Regions from separate parts of the Homo sapiens genome. Here region 1 is linked to region 2. The links are contacts of gene promoters, found by promoter capture Hi-C in blood cells and fetal thymus (Javierre and others, 2016). All regions are on one chromosome and are shown on one strand. The core of a region is centred on a gene start or on the middle of the fragment in contact, and the rest is flanking DNA. Distances in the headings are between cores, read along the strand shown.

The links. Contacts are between HindIII fragments. The CHiCAGO score rates a contact against its expected background, and 5 or more counts as called.
Region 1: a fragment that was not itself captured here is called in contact with the fragment with the promoter of IRAK3 in region 2 in 2 of 17 cell types (M0 macrophages and total B cells); the score reaches 5.3 in M0 macrophages.

What each region holds. Positions count from the first base shown.
Region 1 is chr12:66,694,903-66,698,988 of GRCh38, forward strand. It overlaps a transcript of GRIP1 not described here. Among named protein-coding and RNA genes, the nearest start is that of GRIP1, 18 kb to the left of the region's middle. The HindIII fragment of the contact is 1,333 bases long and covers 1,116-2,448 here.
Region 2 is chr12:66,186,674-66,190,570 of GRCh38, forward strand. IRAK3 (interleukin 1 receptor associated kinase 3) reads left to right here and starts at 2,541. Exons shown (of 12, transcript NM_007199.3): 1 at 2,541-2,759. The coding sequence starts at 2,627. RefSeq lists silencers at 2,646-2,695, 2,716-2,875. The HindIII fragment of the contact is 2,960 bases long and covers 2,205-3,897 here.

The DNA of each region.
Region 1 (4,086 bases), core at 532-3,031, 510 kb after region 2:
GAGGGTATGGCTAAGTGAGATCTCCTTTTGTGTCTTATCTGAGGTCCAACATCTCTCTGAAGCACTAAAGTCTTACTGATAACTGTTGTTGTTATAATTTCATAAAACAAAGGCAAATCTTTTTAAAATAAGGAAGAAAGCTTTTTATTCCCACTTCCAAATCATCTGTCTCTAACCAAGTCATAAAGACCATCAGGCTGCCAGTGCAGTACGATGTGTTAGATGTTCAACAGGAGTTCCTAGAACAGGCTCTACCTCCTCTGGGTGGAGAAGTGGGGCTGACCATGTGTGAGGAGGAGCCTTGCTCATAGGGGGAAGACACTTTTCTCAAAGCACTCCTCAACTGCTGACCCAGCATGCAATCTAACCTGTTTTTTTTTTTTTTATGGCATCTGTTTACACAAATTCTGACCAGGTGGCAAATTCTTCCCCTCTCCTGTCAGCCACAGTATGCTGGACAGAGAACACCTGTTCCAGAAGTGGACTGATTAGCCCAAGGTTGGGATACACAGCACGAGCTATGGGCCACACGAGAGGAGGAGATCCTGTGACTTGTCGGTGGTTGGCTCCACTCCTCCTCTTGGCCCTAGTCCATGTCTACCACTAATGGGATTGATCCATGGGCATAAATCTGAAAGCCCTTGCTAGGCAGGTAGGAGGTTATCTTATCCAAAACTGCTACAGTGTTGTTGCTAGCTGAAAGCAAATGTTTCAAGCACTGGGGAGGGAACTAGAGGTACAAAATTGAGGTTGATAATCTTCGTTTTTAAGGAGCTTCTTGGGGAGGGCATTGGTGAAGGTGATAGAATGGAATAAAAATATCACTTAATGAATATCTTTTCTGCAATGTCATTTACATATGCAGGGTATCTTTAAACAAGTAACAATAATTCAGTGGAATATCAGCTTTATTGATACTATCAGTAGGATGTGTGGATGCAAAAGGGAGAAAACAAATTAGTGAGAAGAATGGATAAATGAGGCAGTAGGAAAGGTTCACAGAGGAGGTGGGACTGGAGGTGGATTGTGAAGGATAACTAAGAGTCTGTCCATGGTGGAGCAGGCAAATATTCCAGGAGAAGAAAGAACTGGTAGCATGGGGCAAATGGGAATGAAGCTTGAAAGAAAACGGAAAAACTAAATGAAGAGGGGAAGAGAGAATCAAATCACAATATAGGCATAAAATGGAATAAGCTAATGATTAGCAAAATTACTATTATCTCAAAACCCCATTTTTTTTTTAAAGGACAACTCATAACACTTACCAGCTGTGCCACTCTTTAGGGTACTTTCACATCTCAAGAATGGTCCTTTGACCCAGTAGACATACAGAAACACAAGTCAACCTATTCATTTCTCTCAATCTACAGAAAACTCTAGCTCTGCAAGCTCCTTGTCATTTGAAGAATTTGATTCCTGATGAGTAAGTTGCTAGCCTAAAGAAAAATACCAATCTAAACATTATTAAGGACAGTGTAACAAAGAAGACATTCTACAAATTCTTTATTCCTGATAGTCATAAAGAGGCTACAAAGAGAATGAGTTAGAGAAAGGTGGAACATACTCAGCATGAAAAAGAAATTTTAAAAAGAATTATGGTTAGGCCAGGCGTGGTGGCTCTCGTCTGTAATCCCAGCACTTTGGGAGGCCGAGGCGGGCGGATCACAAGGTCAGGAGATCGAGACCATTCTGGCCAACACAGACCCCGTCTCTACTAAAAAAAACAAAAAACAAAAAACAAACAAACAAACAATTAGCTGGGCATGGTGGCGGGCACCTGTAGTCCCAGCTACTTGGGAGGCTGAGGCAGGAGAATGGCGTGAACCCGGGAGGCAGAGCTTGCAGTAAGCTGAGATCGCACCACTGCACTCCAGCCTGGGTGACAGAGCAAGACTCTGTCTCAAAAAAAAAAAAAAAAAAAAAAAAAAAAGAATTACTGTTATAGATTTTGTGATCCAAGAGGGATGTTAGGCAGCCTGCACCTAATAGAATTTGGTAGATGCAAAAAAAGTTGCTTGTTGAATAAATGACTGAATGTTCTACTTCAGTGGTTTATAAACTGTGCTTCCCAGAGGTGGTTCTGGGTTCTGTAAAGCACAAAGTAACTTCTGTACAACAGTGAAGTTTCAAACTACTCTGAAGACAAGTGTGATCCCAGTGCCTGACATATAGCAGGTGCTTTATAAACATTTGGTAGTGAATGAATGAAGGAACAAGCAAATGTATTAATGGATAGAGGAATGGAATAGTTTGAACTTTAACAACCATGAACAAAAGGACTAAAATCTAAAGGGAAAAAAGACCAATTTTCCTTCTCTCCTGACCTATCTCAAACTCCATCCTTGCTGTAACTTATTTCCTTTTGCATCAAGGGAAATATAAAAATGACAATGACCTTTCCCTCACATCAGAGAGAGGTGGAAAGAATAAATATGTTAATATGTGCAAAGCTTCCAGACTTCCTTAGAGAGAGCCACTACAGGTATTAATTTAATTATTATGAGCTTCTTGCAGAAACACAGCTGTTACACCTTTAAACAAACCATTTTTGATAATATTTCAGTTATCTTCAAACAGAAGGCAGAATGGGCTAGATAACCATAGGGAAATGGCCGACAACACAAATGCACCTGGCCCTCAGCTCCAGACTCACTTGGGGCTCAATTTGGGGCAGTCACACATTTGAGACTACTTTTTAAGATACTTTTGGTTTTGTGGTGAAGGGCTGAGAAGCGTGCTAACTGGCTGCACTGAGCTGAGTCAGGCACAGGGATGAAACTGATGCCTCTTTCTCTGTCCATAGACAGCTCCAAATCTGAACTAAATTCCAGGAGAGAAGGTGTAAGGAAGTGAAAAGCAACAGATTCGAAAGTATTTTTAGTGGGTTACTCTCTTTGTAGGAAGTTCTGGCCTTATTCAAACTATGTTTCTCATGTCTATATATTAGACAAATGGCTCTAATCAGCAAATGCAAATCAAGACCCCCTCAACAAAGCGAAGTGCAACAAGAATAAAAGCTTATTGATCCTCTTGTTATCGATCTGGACCATATATCTAGATTTCTCTGTATTCTACAACTAGAAAAAATCTTCAGTATGCAGTATTAAATACAGAAAAGAATTACGGTTACAGTATTTGTGATCCTATATTTGTAGAAAGCAATATGCTTTCTACAATATTTACAACAATCAGAGATTAGGAGCTTGAAAAAGAATGGAGCACATTGCTAAATGAGACTTGTGCCACCAGATATGGAGGTTCATGAGATTTGTCTCAAAATTCTTCTCTTCAATCAATATGTATCTAGACTTGAACATGCACTGAAAAGAATTAACATGTCAAAAATGTAACCAGGAGTGAACAAAGTAACTAAGATCACAATTAATTGTACTTAATTTAGAAAGAAAGTGTTTTTTACCTGTCAACTATGGGGAAACATCACTTTTTAGTATCAGGACGCCTTGTGTTTTTAAAAAATATTTGTTGAAGAGTAAAAGCTGTACCTGTGCCTTATTTTCATTTGCACACAGGATGTAAACACTTGAAAGTTCCACCATGAACCCACATTCTACACACGCAAGGCAGAACTTCACAAATGCTTCCCAGGACAGCTCTTTTTCAACTATTTCCTATTTGTCAGTTTGGCCACCAACCCGCAAGTCTCCTAGGCTAGAAATCTCGGCAGAGTTATTTTCTCTTTTCTTGCCTTCCTCCTTCCCTGTTTCTTGTTTGTTCGGTGAAGATAATAATAGTCTGGCCCCCCACCTCCTTTGTTGGCTCTAGGGTGGTCCTCCCACCCCATCCCCTCCAGAGGTTAATATGAATCTACCTATCGTATCTAGCTGCTCTGGAAGCCCAGTAGGTGGAAGCACCACTCAAGTCCTCTACCAATGTTACCATAACAAACTTGGTTATTTCTTTCTTTGACTTTTTAAAGCACAGTTTCTGGAGTAAGAAAAACTGTTCCTACTGTATGATTGTGGGCAAACTCATATTTTCATAAGTGGGGAAAACAGCAGCCTCTACCCTTGCAGCGTTGTTGGGAGGCTTAAGTGAAGTTCTCAGTCATGCAGCAGGCTCAGTAAA
Region 2 (3,897 bases), core at 1,291-3,790:
CTCCCACTTATAAGTGAGAACATGCAGTATTTGATTTTCTGTTCCTGTGTTAGTTTGCTGAGGATAATGGCCTCCAGCTCTATCCCTATCCCTGCAAAGGACATGATCTCATTCCTTTTTATGGCTGCATAGTATTCCATGGTGTATACATACCACGTTTTCTTTATCCAGTCTATCATTGATGGGCATTTGGCTTGATTCCATGTCTTTGCTATTGTGAATAGTTATTCTACATATATTTTAAATCACTGAGAACTAAGATAGGATTAGTACTGGAGAGAGCAACAATGAGCCAGGAGCTAGAGAGTCTAAAAACGAGGAGAAGGAATTGGAGTCGGGGAGATCAGCAGTTGATAGCAACCATGATGATACAACCTGATGATATAAAAATCAAAACTCAAGACAGTTTTAGGAATAGGAAGGCAACATGGTCTGAGAACGACTGCCAACACTGAAAATACAGGAAATTTCACATACTCTAGCTTTCACTTAGGATCCTTGCTTCTTGGTAAATTACAAGATCTGGTAAAGCAGGCCTTTCTGATTGCTTCCCTCATCTGCAGTGATTTCCTGTTTCCTCTGAGTGAGTTTGCCTCCCTGTAGTAGCAATTCAAAAGCTACCAAATAATTAATGGCCTTTTGCCTCTGTTGCTCAGCATGTTCAGGTAGTCCCTTTAAGAGATGTATAGAGGGCCGGGTGTGGTGGCTCATGCCTGTAATCCCAGAACCTTGGGAGGCCTAGGGAGGTGGATCACTTGAGCCCAGGAGTTTGAGACCAGATTGAGCAACATGGGAAAACCCCGTCTCTACAAAAACTACAAAGGTTAGCCAGGCATGGTGGCATGCACCTGTAGTCCCAGCTGTACTGGAGGCTGAGGTGGGAGGATGGCTTGAGCCCAGGGGGTGGAAGTTGCAGTGAGCCGAGATCGCACCATTGCACCCCAACCTGGGCAATCAGAGCGACTAAAAAAAACAAATAAGAAAGAAAGGAGGGAAGGAAGGAAGAAAGGAGGGAAGGAAGGAAGGAAGGAAGGAAGGTAGGTAGGTGTACAGTGTGTACAGATTGACAATAAAACCTTGAACAACGGGATATCGAAATTCTTGCCCACACAGTATGGGCTTTGCCAGTTTTCAGATACATTTTTATGAAGTATTTTCGCTGGCAAAACCATTCAGGTAGGGGCATGAAATGATAGTGTTTCATCACTCGTGATCTCTAGGGGCAGCTATTCCAAAGACTACAATCTGAGAGGTTTCAAAACACCTCTGGTGTTTTCACTTGATGGCCACTGCCCACTCTTCCAGTCACTAAGGCTGAGATTTTTCTCACCACTTTCAAAACAACTTTTTGTCACTGGTAACATGCCTCATGTGACCTAGAAGATTTTGAAACAACAATTTTACTTAAACTCCGTGAAGATTTCAAAACAACAATTTTACTTAAACTCCATGTTGAAGGCAAAAAGGAAGATTGTGTGAAGCACTTTGAGGAAGGAAAAAATGATGGAACGATATTTCATCAAGGAAGCCCATGAGGAAGAAAATTTATTAAAACCAAGTAGGTGTATGGAGGAGAGGCCGCCTCGTGAAGAAAACGAACATAATTTTACGCTGATTTGGTGTCTTTTCTGTTTTTCTCTTGTTGGTATCTACATTCATCTTTTCCAATAATAATCCCATATATGTACATTTTTATCTGTTTAAATTCAGTAAAAGTTGGGAGGAAAATGTGTCAAAACTTTTAGAGTGTGATGGGCTGAGTGGGGTTGTGAGTGATTATCTTCTTTTTTCAGTTTTTTTCTGGGTTTTCCAAGTGTTCCTCGATGAACATGGATAGTTTTTCTGACAGGATAAAAAAGAAGTAGTCCGGGACAGTGGCTAACACCCCGAATCCCAGCACTTTGGGAAGCCGGAGGTGGGAGGATCGCTTGAGGCCAGGAGTTTGAAACCAGCCTGGGCAGCATAACGACACTCCCTCTCTACGAAAAACGAAAAAAAATAATTAGCCGGACGTGGTGGCGTGCGACTGTGGTCCCAGCTACTCGGGAGGCTGAGGTGGGAGGATCGCTTGAGCCCAATAGGTGGAGGCTCCGTGAGCTGAGATAGCGCCACTGCGCTCCTGCCTGGGCGACAGAGTGAGAACCTGACTCAAAACAAAGAAAAAAGGAAGAAAAGAAAGGAAGGGAAGAAGGAAGGAAGGGAGAAGCTTTCAAAAATAAACTTTTGTAAGAAGTAATGACACCGCTAGCCGTCCACACCAGGAGACCGCCTAGCCGTGGGGCACGGTGGGCTCCTGGGAGCTCTGAGCTCTGGGCTTTCTCCAGTTCGCACTCTGCTTGTCTCGGCAGCTCCGTCCCCACCGCAGAGGTGTGAAGGGGCGCAAAGCCAGCGAAGGGAGAACCCGGGTCGGGTAACCCCCAGGCCTGGCCAGGCGGACGCAGGGGCATCTCGGGCGAGGCGCGCCTTGCGTCACGTGGGCACCGCCCCTGCAGTGACCGGAGAACGGCGTGTTCCTAGGGCTCTGCTGCCGTCGTGGAAGCAGGATTTCCGCGGTTGTGTAACGGCCTGTCGCAGGCGTGCAGGGACCTGGACTCCGCCTCGTCCCCGGGGCTCGGGCAGCCGAGCCATGGCGGGGAACTGTGGGGCCCGCGGCGCGCTGTCGGCGCACACGCTGCTGTTCGACCTGCCGCCCGCGCTGCTCGGAGAGCTCTGCGCTGTTCTGGACAGCTGCGACGGCGCGCTGGGCTGGCGCGGCCTGGGTGAGTCGGCGGGGACCGGCCGGGGGCGGCGGGGGAGCCCAGCGCGCCGCGGGGCCCGCTCGGCGTCGCCCTGCATGGCTGGGGTCCCTCGCGGGGCTGGCGCGGCCTCCGGGAAGTTCCCGCCAGGGAGCCGGCCCCCTCCTTTCCTGGGTTGGATGCAGAGACTCCCTGGGACCCAGATGCCTTCCCTCCCTTCTCTTTCAAAGAATTTTGGGTATCGCTGCAAAGTCAAGGGAGCCGAGGCCTGGGAAAGACAGATAACCAGCGTGAAAGCATCTTCTGTTCGTCCGCGATGCCACCCTCACTGGGTTCGCAATGTATGATGTCTTCTGGTCCTTGCAAAATCACCCCAGAACATCATTTTAGTATTGAGACATTTTTAGAACTTTGAGATACTTATCCTTTGGTGTTTTCAATGCATCCCTAAGCCCCTAACTTAATTACAAGTGAAATGCTAAAGTAAACTACGGTTTGCAATGAACGCGGCTCCTAATTTTCTTAATTAAATCTTATTTACCCAATTTCGTTGAATGAAGGTTTATGCTAAAGGGTGGCTTTTTATTTTAATCTAAAAAAATTGGCTTCAGAACTGTATTTTATGCAGACATTGGAAAGTTGAGCAACTGCCTGCTGGAAGTGTTGAGTGTAGCCAGAGATAATTCGGACAAAAATCTTCGTTTTGTTAAGTACAGGCATTTTTGGTTAGATTTGATATTCCACAATGTCATGTTTAATGTTTATTGAAAAGAATCATGATTATGTCAAAATAACTTAGCTTTAATGGTCTGAAATAGGATTTTTCTTACCAGGACTAGCAGAAGGCCTAAGAGGAGAGTTTTCTTTGTTACTGATGAACAGTATGGTGACAGTCTTTGAATTGTAGCAATGGGCTTCTGGTTATACAAAAAATGTTTATATATTTTAAGCTCTGTAATTTTAAGTTATGGCCCTTAAGAAAAAAAAAAAAGTCTGATTTCTAGAAAACGAGATTTCCAGTGTGCATTTGAGGGATTTTGAGGGATAAGGTCACTTCCCCATCAGATCTTTTTGAGATGGATTTTGGCGTGGACAGTATTTATACCCGTTGATTTCCTAGAGTTACTGACTTTGAGAAAGAAAAGTGTTTTTAGTCCAGTTT